Regions from separate parts of the Homo sapiens genome. Here regions 1, 2, 4, 5 and 6 are each linked to region 3. Evidence: promoter capture Hi-C in human tissues and cell types (Jung and others, 2019). All regions are on one chromosome and are shown on one strand. Each heading gives the region's core, a stretch centred on a gene start or on the middle of the fragment in contact. The rest is flanking DNA. Distances are from core to core; before and after follow the strand shown. Region 1 overlaps MACROD2 (mono-ADP ribosylhydrolase 2). Region 2 overlaps MACROD2 (mono-ADP ribosylhydrolase 2). Region 3 holds the start of FLRT3 (fibronectin leucine rich transmembrane protein 3). Region 4 overlaps MACROD2 (mono-ADP ribosylhydrolase 2). Region 5 overlaps MACROD2 (mono-ADP ribosylhydrolase 2). Region 6 overlaps MACROD2 (mono-ADP ribosylhydrolase 2).

Region 1 (2,700 bases), core at 166-2,665, 1.4 Mb before region 3:
AACAGACAAATTATTAATCCAAAAGTTAATTAAAGTTCAAGTCAAGAACATATAAAAATGTCATGGAGACATGAAAATAATAATGGTAAGAGCTATGTATTTGTATACATAATTTGTATACAAAGCTATGCTTTGTATTTATTGTCACTAATTCTATATTCCTTATATTATAGATGAGTAAACCAAGGTTTGAATGTCTTCACTGACTTGTCCAAAGTTACATGGCTGGCAAATGGTGGAACGAAGATTAAAGCCTGCTCTTCTTACTATAGCCCTCCACCTCCCCACACAGTATATACGTGTTTGTCAAAATATCATTAGAGAAAATTTCTCCTGGGTCTTGATTTAGAATAATGGTGGGCAAATTTATTCAGATCAGACTTCTTAATAAAATATGAACAATGTTGGAATACACTTGAGTGGAAGCCTGTAACTAGACACAAGTGGAATATTAAGGTAACAAAGATACTTATGTCCTGAAGTCACTGGTCAATACTGCACACATGGGTTTCAATTCAGAGCTATAGGTGGTGAGAGGAACAGAAGTCAATGTCCATGGCCTACCCAAGGTGGGAGTCTTATAAGAAACACTTCCTTTTGAAGCTTCAGAACGCTACATTTTGAAAGAAGGCTGAACTAATTATAACCTATATTCCACCACAAGCCCCAAATCCGAGGGGATAATAGAGAAGTTTTCTGTGGTGATGAGTGGGCAGGACAGAAAAAAAAATAAAGAGAAAGAAAGAAAGAAAGGAAAGAAGGAAGGGAGGAAGGAAGGAAGGAAGGAAAGAGGAAAATTTCTTGAGCGATTGTGGACATTGATTGGCTCTTTCATGTATTTGAACTCAGAGCCTGGACTGGTGATGGAATTTAAGTCACCAAATTTGACTGAAGTAGTCCCAGACTGACAGTGCCCCATTCTTTGTAGGAGGTATATTTTAGACCTCAAGGAATCTTCCCAAGTTATTTTTAAGGGCAATGGCCAAGAAGCAGTCATATATAAGCAGATGCATTAAGAAAGGAAATAACATGGCCAGAACTAGCATGGCAGACAGCAGAAAGAGATCTGCACACACTTCAGACACTGGGATTTGTAGAACACATTTTAAAAGAGCTATGCTTACCCTGTTTATAAGAATAAATGAAAAACTTAAAAATATCTGCAGAGGACAAAACCCTATAAAACAGGATAGCAGAATTTAAAAAGAAAACTAGAAAAAAGAAACAAAATTGTATTATCTACTCAAAGCTTTTCTGCTAATGTCAAGAAGGCAAAGATGGCCCCTCTCACCACTCTTTTTCAACACTGTACTAGAAGTACTAGTTAATGTAATAAGACAAGAAAAGGAAATAAGGGTATACAAATTGGAAAGGAAGAAATAAAGCTGTCTTTGCTCATACATGCTATGATCATCTCCGTGGAAAATCTGAGAATTGACAAAAAAAAATTCTGGAAATAATAAGCAATTGTAGCAAAGATGCGGGATACAAATTTAATATACAAAAGTCCATTGATTTTCCATCAACAAGCAATAATACAAGAGCCCTAAACAAAATATTACTGACACATTAAAATAAACATAACAATACTATTTAAAAACATCAATTGTATCATGTTACTACTGGGTTCATCCAGGAATTCAAATTTAGTTTGGCATTAAACACAGTCATCTTCATTCATCACTAAGGACTCTCGATACTGCCTGAAAACCTATGTGTGATCCTTCAAGCCTGACCATAGGTGATTACCAAACGTTTACCTGAGAGGCCTCAGCAGGGAAAACCACCTTCCCCACACCTACTTTGGTGCACAGCCAATGCACTGCAGTCTTTGAAGAGTATTGCAGTCAGGGACTCAGGTGCCATCAGCTGGCCATGTTCTTACTCATGTCTGCATTCTTAGTCCTGGTACCTACATTCAGAGGCCTCCTATTTGGGGGTCTTCAGAAGACATTTTTCTCAGGTGCTGAGACCTCCTTATTATGGTAGAGGGAGGAACTTTGAGGATACTCTTTTTTCACTCTGACTCAGTACTCAATACCTTCCATTACTAACCTTCCCATTCTCCTGTTTATGGTCCATAAAACAGAAGGAGCTTTTTGTTTAGAACTTTCTTAGCAATAAGGAGATTCATCATGTCTATGCTGATCTATCTGACCATGGATGGTGCCATTCCAAATGAACAATGGAACACTAGGGAAGTCAGTGCTTTCCCCAGTTGAGCATCTTGCTTATAGTATTGCACTATTGACGAAAATCTTGACTGTTACTTTCATTTTGGCTTATTTTCTTCATGGCCACTCGAACCCCTGGCAGCTCAGCTCTCAGTCTGGCTCAGCTCTTCACAAGTTCATTAGCACATTAGGAGAAAAAAACACAACCTCAATAGATCCAGAAAATGTATTTAATACAATTCAGCAAACGATGTCAGAAACCCTCAGCAGACTATGAAGAGAAGGAACCTAGCCTGAAATAAATGTTTTCTACTAAGCTTACAGAGCAAATATCATCCCTAATTTTGAAAATTATAAAATGATGAAAGTTTCACCGTTTCTTTTTTTTTTTTTTTTTTTTACTGGAAACCAAACAACCATGCCAAACTCAGTCTTTACTGTTTCACTGGAAATAAGTGCAATAAGGCAAGTAAAACTAAATGGTAATAGAATTGGAACTGGAGAATCAAATTGTCATTTTTCAAAG
Region 2 (2,700 bases), core at 104-2,603, 1.0 Mb before region 3:
CAATTGTCTGGTCTTTACTGCGCACTAGTTTAGGGCAAAGCCATGAATTTTATGTGACTAACACCCACAAGGCAAACAACATAGCTTTTAAGGATTTTCCCTTTATTACTACCAGCAAACATGATTAATGAACATCCTGGCCAGTTCTCTGACTTGTATCTCTGATAGTTATAAATGCAATGATGTACGTACATTTGTTTAAGTTAAGTGTAACGGGAGAGTGGGAAGGTTCAGGAAATGAAATTGAAAACATCTCTTTCTTGCTCAGGAATAGTGGCACTCTATTCTTTCAGAATAGAGTTTCCAAAGATCAGTTATATCAACTGTCTGTACAATCTTAAAACACAACTGTATAACAAAAAAATACATAGACTCAGGGAAAGCTGGCACCAAGGAAAGCTGTGTTCTCTTCTTCAAATGAATCTTATGTGGAAGGTAAACATGTAAAGATATAAATAGCATTATTGTGGTCGAAAGTGGGCTTGGTGTAGTTGAAAAATAGAAAAGAGAATTTGGCGACCATAAGACTATATATACACATACACACATATAAGTGATTATATATACATATCAGTGATATACGTAATCATATAAGTGATTATATATGTATGTAAGTGTAATTACATATGTATATATACATATATGTGTATATATGTGATTATATATAAGGGATTGTATTATAATCATATGTGATTATATATATGATAAAATCACTTATATGTGTGTATGTGCGTATATCTATATATAATGTGTGCATATATATATAGAAATTATACATATATTTCCCTCTGAAGCTTTTGCAAGATTTTATGCATATCAAGAGTCTTCCATGAGTTTCAAAAATAATGAGAATAGAGAATGAGATAAAGGCAACAATGACTGAGCATTTTCCAGAGTTGACAAAAGACATGAATTCTCATATTAGAGGGAAAACAAACAAACAATAAACAAATCAACAAAAGAATGAACATCAAAATAAGACAAATGAAAAAATTCAGACGTGGCAAAATGAAGTTACAACACATGCATGTAAAAGATGAAAATGTCAAAAGGTACAAGGAAAAGTACTGCAAATATTTACAAAAAATGTCAAAATACACATAAATATACAATGTTTGTGGATTGGAGGACTCAAGTTCAAAAAGTAACAATTATCATAAAATTAATCTATAAATTCAATGACATTTCAATAAAAATCCAGAAAGTTTCTTCTTGAAAAGTGCCCAAAAAAAGCTGGGTGCAGTGGCTCATGTCTGTAATCTCAGCACTTTGAGAGGCCAAGGTAGGAGGATCACTTGAAGCCAGGAGTCTGAGACCATCCTGGGCAACAAAGTGAGACCCCATTGCTACTAAAAATAAAAATACTAACTAAGTGCAGTGACATGCCTGTAGTCCAAGCTACTTGGGAAGCTGAGGCTGGCAGATTGCTGGAGCCCAGGAGTTCCAGGATGCAGTGAGCTATGATGGTGCCACTGCCTTTCAGCCTGGGTGAGAGAACAGCACCCTGTCTCTAAAAAGGAAAAGAAAAAACAAAAAAGGAAAATAATTCTATAATTCACCTAGAAGAGAAAATCTCAAGAATATTTAAATCAGTTTTGAAGATAATAAATAAGATATATGGGGTTTTGCCCTTCCAGACATCAAGGTTATAAAACTACAGTCACTGAAAATTTAAATCTGGAGTAGAGTTAAATCAATGCAACAAAAAGAGGTCACAGAAATAGCGTTGTACATTTATAGAAACATGGCCTATCACAGAATTCTGGCCAGGTGAGGTTGATAGCCTAAGTAGGTATAGAAACATTTTAACCTTTTTAAAAGAAGGTATAGGATTGACAGGATAATTTTATAAAATTGTTATAGAAAAGGATTTTTTTTTAGGGTTTTCTCCTGTGGCCCAGGCTGGAGTGCAGTGGTGTGATCACATGATCACAGCTCACTGCAGCCTCAATCTCTGGGTCTCAAGCAATCCTTCTGCCCCAACCTCCCAAGCAATTGGGACTATAGGCATGCATCACCACATATGGCTAATTTTTTAATTTTTTGTAGAGATGGGGTCATGCTTTGTTGCCCAGGCTGTTCTCTGACTCCTGGCCTCAAGTAATTCTCCCACCTTCACCTCCCAAAGGACTGGGATTACAGACATGCATTATCGCATCCAGCCTGGGAGGGATTTGTGAAGACATGAATGGCAGAAACCATAAAGAAGAAGATCTGCACATTTTTTCCACAATAAAATTTAAAACATAATTTTAAAATCTGTCTCCATGGACAAAGTTAAAAGAGCAGCTCCAGACTGGGAATAAATGTATTTTGGCAACACATAATTATTATACCAAATATGTAAGGAACTCCTACATGGCATCTAGAAAAAGATGTTAACCTACTAGGGAAAAAAATGAGCAATGAACACAAAGGCAATTCACAGAAAGAAACCCAATGGACATTAAGTGAGAAGATATCTTACTAGAAATAAGGGAAATGCACTTGAAAGCAGCAGTGAGATGCTCTTTTATACCCATTCAACTGTAAAAATTAAAGTCTGAATATACAGTACCACTGTTGGATGCCAAAAACCCTGAACCTTCATACAATGCTGAGGAGAATGTAAACAGGTACAGCTATTCTGGATGATAACTTGGATTTTACAAACACAATTTGGAGATGTGCATACTCTGTGAGCCTCAAGTACACTTTTAG
Region 3 (2,700 bases), core at 88-2,587:
TCCAGGTAAATATAAAAGCTAAGTTCTTACCACCAACATGAACAAGTGAAATACACTTATTTGATGGAAAACTTACGGGCACAAAGCAATTGTTGACCAAATAGCAGAAACCAGTCTACAAAAATCATAATTAAAAATACAAGTATAATTCTGTTAATTAGGCATAGAAATTTATAATCTCCACGTCTTACAATTGTCCAGTGTTTATTCATGTACCTAAATTAAACTAAAATAATTTCAATCCAGGCAAACCACCCTGAAAGATTTTTTTCTTAAGATGTTTATATCTAAACCCATGCTCAGATCAGCAAAAACATTTAGAAAGGAAAATATTCTATTAAATTTTTTAAAAACATTTTATTGGGGGATCGTTAAATATAAATAATCCATTTTAAATAATATAAACACGTAGCAGAAGTACATAAAACATACTTTCATTTTCTAAAACATAGAGAACAGTAACTTCTTCGCCTCCAAAAGAACAGACCATTTAATACCATTTAAAAAAATCTTTTGGCATTCCTATTGCCCTTCCCATAACTAAATGAATCAGTGACACGTGTATATATATACATATATTGGAGATGGAGTTTCGTTCTTGTTGCCCAGGCTGGAGTGCAATGGTGCAATCTTGGCTCACTGCAACCTCTGCCTCCCGGGTTCAAGTGATTCTCCTGCCTCAGCCTCCCAAACAGCTGGGATTACGGGCGCCCAGCTAATTTTTTCTACATGTTGGTCAGGCTGGTCTCGAACTCCTGACCTCAGGTGATCCTCCCACCTCGGCCTCCCAAAGTGCCGGAATTAGAGGCGTGAGCCACCACACCCAGCCCTGATGTATATATTTGAATCTGCTGTTTATTCATATGTTGAATAAACATTCACAGTTGGGATTACTGGCATACATCTTCCACAATTATAACATTATTTTAGCTAGTGAATAATAAAACTAATTTGATTTTGGTTAACTTCTTTTCAATACAGATGGTTTAAAAATAAGACAAAGCCTGTCTTTTTCTATTGTGATCTTAAAAATATCTTTCTAACATGCTTTTTAAAAAAAATACATAAGTATGCTACCACTGCCTTGTAGTAAACTTTAGAAAATGTTGAGATTCCAAAGGGCTGCCTACAAACCAAATGGCATCCTAGCTTTGGCAGGCTGATGCTTCATTTTGGCTGCTCTCGCCCCCTCTAGCGTTTGCAAAGCTCATCTGTCTGATTATCCAGTTACCTCACTGAACAAGATCTTGGCTAAGTCCTGCCCATCTATGACATCACCCCCTTCTTCAGCCACTGCGAGGTGAAGCTTTAAACTTCAGACTTGGAGGTGGGCTGTGTGCAGTAAACTGGAATGCTCTCCCTCGCTCACTCCTCAGTGTAGGAGTGATCTGAAGCAGGACAAGCTCAGCCTGCAGCTGCCGTGGGCTTTGTGTGGACTGGACGCAGAGCTTGGGAGACGGGGGAGGGCTATTACTCCAATTCACTGTCAATGGAATTACAGCTATAGCGGCAGTGTATATAGGATTGCTTTTTCTCGTCTTCCTGGTAAGTGTTTTCCATGTTTTTTCTTATGATTGTCCCAGAAAGTTTGCTTGGTTTTACTCTCTAGAAAGAAACGACTTGATACTATGAGAAATCCAAATAGGAACGTTTGCTCTGTCACCACAACAAGCAATATATGTGCGTGCAAGCCAGCAATGAAAAATTTCACTATCATGGCTGAATGTAAGAAGTTTCTTAGAACCTTCTTTCATTTATAAAAGATAGTAAGTGGCTATTTTCTGTCTTGAGTAATTGCTATGTGAAAAGAGCCTTATGGAAAACAGCAAGTTGGAAAGTTCAATGTTAAATATTAAAGAATACAAGGAGATTCTTCACAGATAGGAAAGCAACTTGGTGTGTACTGTACGTGTGGGATGATCACCAATTGCTGTTTTTACAACTGTGAAAGAAAATCAATAATCCCTCAGCCCATGAGTACGCAGTACATGAAAAGCATACATCTTGCTCACAGCTAGCCGAGCTACTCCTGGAGACTTATGTGCCTCTGTAAAGGATTAACAGCTACACCTAGATTTTAAAGCTTGCACTGCTATCGTGCCTGAGCTGCTTCAAGCATTTCAGGCTTGCAAATCTCAACTAGTAAATTGAACTCAGAGGAGGGGGAGACACTCTTCCAAACCATATTCCCTCTTCAATAGAACACCAAAATCCATTGCTTAGGCAAGTGAAGTATGTGACTAGCATAGTAAATGGCTAAGTCTACTCAGAAAAACTAACAAAGCTCACCCTGGAAGCTATGCCTGATGTATGCAGTGAGTTTGGGGTAGCAGGAAAGAAAAATAAATGAGTAGAGCCCTTATCAAGTGGGTTTTGCAGAGGATCCATTCTTTGCAACTTATAATAGGAAAATCTTATATTGGAAGAAATGCATTTATACTACAAAGCTTGAAAAAGTAGTTAAATGTATCTTCTCAAAAAATTTTGTTCACTGAATTAGGTCTGAAACAAAATGGTTGCATATAGGTAAAGAGTGCAACAGGCCCATCCATGTCTTCTCAACATCTGGGGGGTTTGTTTTTATTATTTTATTTAGAATTTAAAAGAAAAAAAATTGATTTTTTTTTCAATTTTTAGTCCAAAATCTCTAATGGTTTTAATAATAAGGCTATTTTAAACATTCTTAATAAATCTGTCTAT
Region 4 (2,700 bases), core at 86-2,585, 1.1 Mb before region 3:
AATGACCTGAGTAATCGACTGCGATTCATGCAATAATTGCATACAAGATCTTTTACTATTCTACCTAAAACATCCCCTTGGCTGGTTTTGGATTTCTAAGTTTTACCCATACATAAGTTACTGCTCCTGAAAATGCCTAGAGAAATGTAATTGGAAGTGATGCATGTACCATTTCCCTCAAACAGACAGAACCTGGCTCATTCCTCTTAACCACAGCAAGGCACTTGGGGTATAGCAAGTGTTTGACGAATGACAGGAGAATGAAGAGACCAAATAAGCCACAGAATTTTAAAGGAGGAAAACTGCATTTTAAAATGCACATTTCCCACAGCAGGCATCATTGTTCGTCTTAATAATGAATGACAGTATTTCACAAACAATGAGCTCTGGACCAAGTTTGTGGTAGAATAAGGAAACCCCAGAAAAGGCATATTTCTCATCAAAAATCAATCTGTTCTCCTGCTTGAGCTGTAGTAAGCAGATACAAGATAGCCTGGAGTTGTAATGTGCCAGGAAAACCTGCTGGGGCAGGAAAAGAAGTTCAGGATGTGCTCATAGTAGAAATAACTATCCATTTAAACACAAATGTTAGAGATTTACTTTGATGGACCTCTTTGGGAAGGTGGAGCTTTTGTGTAGATTGAAGCAATTCCTCAGGGAAAAATCGAGTCGATGTTTGCTCAGTATTTCACTTATGAACATGTGACATTTTTCTTCTTACAAAGTAACAGGCCTTCATTTTTGTCCCTAGGCTCAAAGAAAATGAAGAGTCAGGAGGATGACAAAATGAGAGCCAGCACATGATCTTTTTCTTACTTTCCTAGACATCCTAGATAGTGAGAATAACAATATATAGGCGGTTCAACATGCAAGGAGTTTGGAAGATGTCACTCTGTCCTAACACATGTGCCAACACGTGAACAGCTAAACCAACTAAAAGAAAGCAACAACTTTCTTTAGATCCTTCGAAGAAGTGAGGTCACAGAGCAAACTGCTGTCCCCAAAACTGGAGAGACAGACAGGTGGGTACAGAGAATCACAACTTATCTGAGCAGAAATCCCTTAGCAGAAGCCTCCGCAGGAACGAGTACTGGAGTAGAAAAGCCTAAACTCTAACTGACGGATTACTAGAGGCTCCATGTGGACCAGTCTGAATGATGGAAACTCCAAGGGGATCCATTCATCCAGGGCTATCATGCTTTTGTGAGTTTTTACCTCCAGGAGCTGGACCAGGTTCTCACAATGAATATTAGAGAAAAATCCCCTCATGCTTCCAGAAGTGGGAAGGGAAAAAAGAAGAAACATCTTGAAACATGCCACAGCATTCTGTGTGTCATAATAAGGCCTGCCTTCAAGAGAAAATATTTCACCTGAGCCTAAACTATTGGGGTTCTATCAGATCCTAACCAACCTGGGGAAAGGGAAATACTCAACTCTAGCCCACTCTAGCCTTCCAGATAGAAGAAAGGAAATGCCTAATTCCAGTTTACTCTAGCCCTCTTGCCCCACCTAAAAGAGGTGGAGGACCTAAGAAACACTTGAGATGTTCACAGTTCAGAGGTACAGGGTTGCCAAGAGACTGAGATCTAATCACATAACTATATAATACTTCCCCTCCCCTGACATCTAACCACCACATGACTAAAGGCTTATTTATTGTCGTTCTTTTTTTTCTTCTACGTAGTACATTATGTTTGGCTGTCAAGAAAAACTTACAAGACTTACTAAAAGAAAAAAGCAAAAGTTTGAAGAGACAGATCAAGCATCAGAATCAGATATGGAAGGAATATTGAAATTATCAGACCAGGAACTTAACAGCATCACAATGGAGGTCCTAGATAAAGCAGCAAGACAAGAAAAATAAAATAAAATAAAATAAAATAAAATAAAATAAAATAAAAGGCATAATGATGGGAAAGAAAGAAGTAAAATTGTCTTTATCCATAGATGACATGATTGTCTATGTAGGAAATCCAGGTTTGACCCAAAAATCCTGGAGAAAATAAGCAATTATAGCAAGATTGCAAGATAGAAGGTTAATATACAAAAGTCAAACATTCTCCTATGTACCAACAATAAACTAGTAGATTTTGAAATTAAAAACAAAATACCGTCTATATTAGCTACCTGAAAATGAAATACTTAGGTGTAAATCTAACAAAATATGTAAAAGATCTATATGAGGACAACTCCAAAACTGATAAAAAAAAAATCAAAGGAGAACTAAATAAATGAAGAGATAGTCTATGTGCATGGATAGAAATACTCAATATTGTCAAGATGTCAGTTCTTCCCAACTTTTCAGTTGGAAAGAAGAATCTATATTTTCAATGCAATCCCAACCCAGATTCCAGCAAGTTATTTTGTGGATATAAACAAACTGATTCTAAAGTTTATGTGGAGAGATAAAAGCCCCAGAATAGCCAACACAATATTGGAAAACAGTCAGAGGACTGATATTACCTGACTTCAAGACTTACCATAAAGCTTCAGTAATCAAGACAGTGTGGTATTGGCAAAAGGATGGAGAAATAGATCAATGGAAAACAATACAGAGTCCATAAATAGACCCTCGTAAATATAGTCAACTAATCTTTAACAAAGAAGCAAAGACACTACAATGAAGCAAGTCTTTTCAACAAACTGGGCTGGAACAACTGGACAATCACATGCAAGAAATGGATCGTGACACAGATTTTA
Region 5 (2,700 bases), core at 156-2,655, 1.1 Mb before region 3:
ATATAAACCTACAATGAAATAAATTATATCAAAACACAGATAACCAATAGTCAGAACTCATCCCTTTCTAATTACTTTGCACATTTGACTATTACCTATGCTCTTGAGATTATGTGTGTCTGTCGTATGTGTATGGTAAAATACTACACAAGTCTCTCTTTCCAGCTCCATGGTACCTGATGTCACATCAGTTGCTTAAAATCTGAAAACATCAATTAACATTCATGACCCATATTGTGGGACAGTTAAAACCACAGACTGGCTATTGATACACATTTTAGGTAAAATTCAACAAAAGCATTCTGTGAAAATCAAAAAACTATTTAGAATGTATAATAAAGAGTATTACATATATTATTTATTATTATATGTAAATTGTGTGCTACATGTTCTTTATGTCAGTACAATTTAAAAGAAGCTTATATAATATGTACCCCTTTTTTGACAGCCAGTCTTTAAACATTTACCAGCACAGTACTGCTTATGCCATATTTTGCTTAGCAGTGTTCAGAGAATTTGATTGAAAAAAATGAATTGACAAATATAAATGTACATTTTACTCTAAATTAGGCTTTCTAGCTATAGAAAGTGGTCTGGGTATGGCAACTTTCTCTGCCAAGGGATTTCTGTGTAAATTCAACCAAGCTGTTTTACTCTTTCTGGTCTGTATTTTTCAATTGTAAAAGGAAGATAATGCCCACCATACAGAAATGTGTTGTGGACTATTGGTGGGAATGTAAATTAGTACAACCTCTACAGAAAACAGTACGGAGATTTCTCAAAGAACTAAAGATAGAACTACCATTCCATCCAACAATCTCACTGCTCAGTATCTCCTCAAAGGAAAAGAAATTATTATTTTTTTAAAAACCTCTATTCCTGCATTTATCACAGTGCTATCTATAACAAGAAAAAAAATACAATACAAATTCACAATAGTAACAATATGGAGTCAACCTAAGTGTCCATCAGTGGAGAACTGGATAAAGAAAAGATGGTAGGTGGAATACTACTCAGCCACAAAAAAGAATGAAATCATGTGTTTTGCAGCAATATAGATGGAACTAGAGACCATTATTTTAAGTGAAATAACTCAGTCACAGAAAGACAAATACTGCATGTTCTCATTTTAGTGGTAGCTAAAAAATGAGTACACATGGACATAGAGAGTAGAATAATTCATTGAAGACTCAGAAAGGTGGAAGGAGGCAAGGGGTGAGAAACTACCTGAAGGGTACAGTATATGTACACTGTTAGAGTGACGGTTACACTAAAAGCCTAGTCTTCACCATTACACAGTATATTCATGTAACAACAGTGCACTTGTACCCCCTAAATCTATAAAATAAAAAGTGAAAAAAGAAATGTGCTGTTGGAATTAATGACAGAATTTTTTTTTAAGTTACTGGCACTATGCTAGAATCTAAAAACTGCAGCTGCTATGGACCATAATAACTAACATTACTATTGAGGTCAATAATAATAAAAGATCTAAGTCCTTTTTGTTTATATCTTTTGGCTAAATGTGTACTGCCTTTTATTTCTATTAACACTATTGCATAGCCTATGTTTGTTTATTCCCTTTGCATGATGCTCTATTAAAAACGTCAAAATTTATGTGATTTTGTTTCAGAGAGAGTACAAATTGACTTTGTTAAGCTCAACTGTATGTCTGTAAAATGATATATGCTTTTTTCTGCTCCTGTGGAAGCCTTTACTATTAATAGTGAATTCTACTGTTTATAATGAGAAAGTAGAACAGTTTCTGGAACATAGTAGCTGCTCTTTTTAAATTAAATTTATGAGTCAATGCTTTGATTCTGACGGTTCTTGAGGTGCCAATAACATCTGAAGAATGTTCTTAAATGACTTAATCATTCAGTGATACAGATCATGAAGCAACAGTGTAACACAGACTCTGAAAGTGATGTAGTCTCTTTACAGGCATTCACCAACACTATCAATAGGCGTTACTCTCCGTATGAAAATCAACTGCAAGCTTACTATATATTTGTTACGATTAGAAAGGACTCAGAGTTCAGGAACAGTCTACTTAAAAATACAAATCAGAGAGGATTCAGATTCATCCCCATATTTGTGCCATGCCAGTCATGTTCCACTGTACCTTTTAAGTAGGATAAAAGTGAGTTTACAGCTTGAGCCCCAGGAATTCCATGGGAGCAAACTGAACATGTGAGCATCATGTATCTCATGTCTGGAGAGAAAAAAAAAATGTTTGACAACCTCTGCATTGAGCCCTCAAGGTGTAGGGAAGGCAAGATTTTACCTCTACCTTCCTAGAGTTTTTCAGTTGTGGCTGATAATTAAATTGACACAAGACAGATCAACAAGAAAAAAAATACAATACAAATGTATTTAATTCAAGTTGTATGTGGCATTGGAGGCTTCATAAGAAAATGATGACTGAAAGATGCAGTTAAAGTTAAACACATATACTAAATTGGACAAAGAGTAGTAGATTATGAAGATGTGACAAGGTAAAGGGGCTTGGGCTAGGGTAGTTAATTGGGTGAAGTGATAAGAAAGACAAGAGTTAGTTTAACAAGGTGTGTTTGGACAGATTTCCAGTGACCTCAACTTCCCATCCTTGATGATAAGAATGACACTTTTCTTCTAGTACAGGGAGGATATATTTCAACTGGAAATTTTATCTCCTGCTTTTAAAAAGGACTGCAAGAG
Region 6 (2,700 bases), core at 83-2,582, 1.4 Mb before region 3:
GCACTTTGGGAGGCTGAGGTGGGCAGATCACCTGATGTTCGGAGTTCGAGACCAGCCTGACCAACATGGAGAAACCCTGTCTGTACTAAAAATACAAAATTAGCCGGGCGTGGTGGCGCACGCCTGTAATTCCAGCTACTCGAGAGGCTGAGGCAGGAGAATCGCTTGAACCCGGGAGGCGGAAGTTGCAGTGAGCTGAGATTGCACCACTGCACTCCAGCCTGGGTGAGAGAGTGAGACTCCGTCTCAAAAAAAACAAAAAAACACAAAACAAAACAAAACACCATTGCATTACTGGTTTATGCATTTACTATATTAAACTTTTTATCATTATTTTAAAGTGTACTCCTGTACTAATTAAAAAGGTTAATTGTAAAACAGCCTCAGGAAGGTCCTTCAGGTATCCAGAAGAAGGTATCATTATCACAGGAGCTGACAGCTCCATGAGTATATCACCCCTGAAGACCTTCCAGTGAGACAAGATGTGGAGGTGGAAGATAGTGACATCGATGATCCTGACCCTGTGTAGGCCCAGGGTAACGTGTGTATTTTTGTTTTAGTTTTTAACGAAAAAGTCTGAAAAGTGAAAATAAATACATACATGAAAATTAATAATTTAAAAATGGAAAAAAGCTTACGGAATAAAGATATAAAGAAATAAAATATTTTTGTATAGCTGTACAATGTGTTTGTGTTTTAAATTGTATGATTACAAAATAGTCAAAAAGTTAAAATTAAGTTAAAAATCATAAAGTAAAATGTGTTACAGTAAATAATTTATTATTGAAGAAAGAAAAATATTTTTTGTAAATTTAGTGTAGCCTAAGTGTACAGTGTTTCTGAAGTCTACAGCAGTGTGCGGTAATGTTTGAGGACTTCACATTCACTCACCACTCACTCACTGACTCACCCAGAGCAACTTCCAGTCCTGCAAGCTCCATTCATGGTAAGTGCCCTATACAAGTGGACCATTTTTATCTTTTTATATCATATTTTTACAGTATCTTTTCTATGTTGAGCTATGTTTAGACACACAAATATCATTGCACTACAGTTGCCTACTGTATTCAGTACAGTAACATGTTGTATAGGTTTGTAGCCTAGGAGCAATAGGTTATACTGTATGGCCTAGGGGTGTAATAGGCTATAACATTTAGGTTGGTATAAGCACAGTCTATGATGTTTGTGCAATGATGAAACTGCATAACAAGACATTTCTCAGAACATTTCCCCATTGTTAAGCGATGCACGACTACACACACACACACACACACAGACACATACACACAAACACACACACAGCCTCATTTTCTTTTTGCAGTAACTTTCATGCTATATACATATATCTTTTATTTTCTCTATTGCCTATTTTTTTTTTGCAACTGATGCTAATATGCTAATTCTAAGATATGATACAGCTTTATAAATAATGGTTGGTCATAGACTTAAGAAAAAATGTTTCAGGTTTTCAATTTCAAAGGATGAAAAAATTTTACTTAACAAAGAAATAAGCCAACACAGGGGTTGTGAATGTCTTTGGCAATCGGTGGTTAAAGGGATTAGCAGAGATCCCCTGAGAGGAAGAAAGAACTTTATGTAGTGAAACAGAAAAAGAAAAATCATTTAGAGTAGAACTTGAAATAAAAATGAGTCCAGAGAGAAACAATTTCAGACTTGGAAAATTAACAATGAATACAAGGTACTTGAAAATTGTGAAATATTTGGCTTGTAAACATGAATGTGATCTAACACAATCTATAAGACTTAAGACTAAAGTGACTTCATACTCTAGAAAACAGGAAAAATCATGCACTTCAAGGCAGAAGAAATGAGGGGCTAAAGATAATCAATACAAGGTGGAGAATTCTTTGCCATTGGTTAAACAAGTCTTTCTTCATTTAAGAAAGGATGGCTTGTCAGCATGAGTTGCAAATCAACAAGTCATTTTTGTAAGAATCAGAAAAAGCAGTCCTTCTCTCTAGAAATGTAACTATTGTTTGCCAGGAAATTATTGCAATAAATATACAAAATTTTAGGAATATGGCATGAATAGCATCTCCTGCATCATGCGGTGCACAGACTATACAACCTTAGGCAGCTGTCCTGGGTTGAATACAGTGTCCCCAGCATTCTTAGAATGTGGTGTATCACAAGGGCTCCGCTATTCATCTCAAAAGATGATCTATACAAGTTTTTGAGGAAAACCGAAAGAGAAAACATAAAATCTAGTTACTCATTGTGTAGGGAAATTATGTACTTGTGTTATTTTATAAGCTTTATTTTTTTAAAAGAGAAAAAGCTGGCCTCTCATATTTGTGGTATCGATAGATTGCTGAAGTGTACATAAACTCTTGGCAGCACTGCCCTGAGAAGTGAGAGCTCCTTCCTTGAATCTGAGCTTGAACACGTAATTGGCTTTGGTCAGTGGGACGATAGCAAATCTTACACGATCAGAGACATGAAAAGTGTTGTGCAAGGGGGCTCGCCCTCTGGCTAGGTGGATCCCTTCTGCCACCATGAAAACAAGCCTGGGCCAGCCAGTTGAGGATAGAGACCCCGCATGGAGAGAACTCCAAGCTAAGAGTCCTGAGATATAATAGATGTCTGTTTTTAAGCCATTATACTATGAGGCGGTTTGTTATGTAGCAAAAGGTAACTATTACTGGGTCTCAAGAAAAGAATTGTTGCAAATTCCACATC

The links. Contacts are between HindIII fragments. The study calls those that stand out against the background at their distance.
Region 1: a fragment that was not itself captured here is called in contact with the fragment with the promoter of FLRT3 in region 3 in 1 of the 25 tissues and cell types used here (dorsolateral prefrontal cortex).
Region 2: a fragment that was not itself captured here is called in contact with the fragment with the promoter of FLRT3 in region 3 in 1 of the 25 tissues and cell types used here (dorsolateral prefrontal cortex).
Region 4: a fragment that was not itself captured here is called in contact with the fragment with the promoter of FLRT3 in region 3 in 1 of the 25 tissues and cell types used here (dorsolateral prefrontal cortex).
Region 5: a contact is called between a fragment that was not itself captured here and the fragment with the promoter of FLRT3 in region 3, in 1 of the 25 tissues and cell types used here (dorsolateral prefrontal cortex).
Region 6: a fragment that was not itself captured here is called in contact with the fragment with the promoter of FLRT3 in region 3 in 1 of the 25 tissues and cell types used here (dorsolateral prefrontal cortex).

What each region holds. Positions count from the first base shown.
Region 1 is chr20:15,746,437-15,749,136 of GRCh38, reverse strand. All of the region lies in intron 8 of MACROD2 (mono-ADP ribosylhydrolase 2), which reads right to left. Among named protein-coding and RNA genes, the nearest start is that of MACROD2-AS1, 820 kb to the right of the region's middle. The HindIII fragment of the contact is 4,219 bases long and covers 1-2,700 here.
Region 2 is chr20:15,372,234-15,374,933 of GRCh38, reverse strand. All of the region lies in intron 6 of MACROD2 (mono-ADP ribosylhydrolase 2), which reads right to left. Among named protein-coding and RNA genes, the nearest start is that of MACROD2-AS1, 440 kb to the right of the region's middle. The HindIII fragment of the contact is 7,293 bases long and covers 1-2,700 here.
Region 3 is chr20:14,336,249-14,338,948 of GRCh38, reverse strand. It overlaps FLRT3 (fibronectin leucine rich transmembrane protein 3), which reads left to right and starts at 1,337. Exons shown (of 3, transcript NM_198391.3): 1 at 1,337-1,545. The region is part of intron 3 of MACROD2 (mono-ADP ribosylhydrolase 2); the gene reads right to left. The HindIII fragment of the contact is 3,050 bases long and covers 1-2,265 here.
Region 4 is chr20:15,483,244-15,485,943 of GRCh38, reverse strand. All of the region lies in intron 7 of MACROD2 (mono-ADP ribosylhydrolase 2), which reads right to left. Among named protein-coding and RNA genes, the nearest start is that of MACROD2-AS1, 560 kb to the right of the region's middle. The HindIII fragment of the contact is 3,257 bases long and covers 1-2,700 here.
Region 5 is chr20:15,428,434-15,431,133 of GRCh38, reverse strand. All of the region lies in intron 6 of MACROD2 (mono-ADP ribosylhydrolase 2), which reads right to left. Among named protein-coding and RNA genes, the nearest start is that of MACROD2-AS1, 500 kb to the right of the region's middle. The HindIII fragment of the contact is 5,462 bases long and covers 1-2,700 here.
Region 6 is chr20:15,766,714-15,769,413 of GRCh38, reverse strand. The region is part of intron 8 of MACROD2 (mono-ADP ribosylhydrolase 2); the gene reads right to left. Among named protein-coding and RNA genes, the nearest start is that of KIF16B, 810 kb to the left of the region's middle. The HindIII fragment of the contact is 4,341 bases long and covers 1-2,700 here.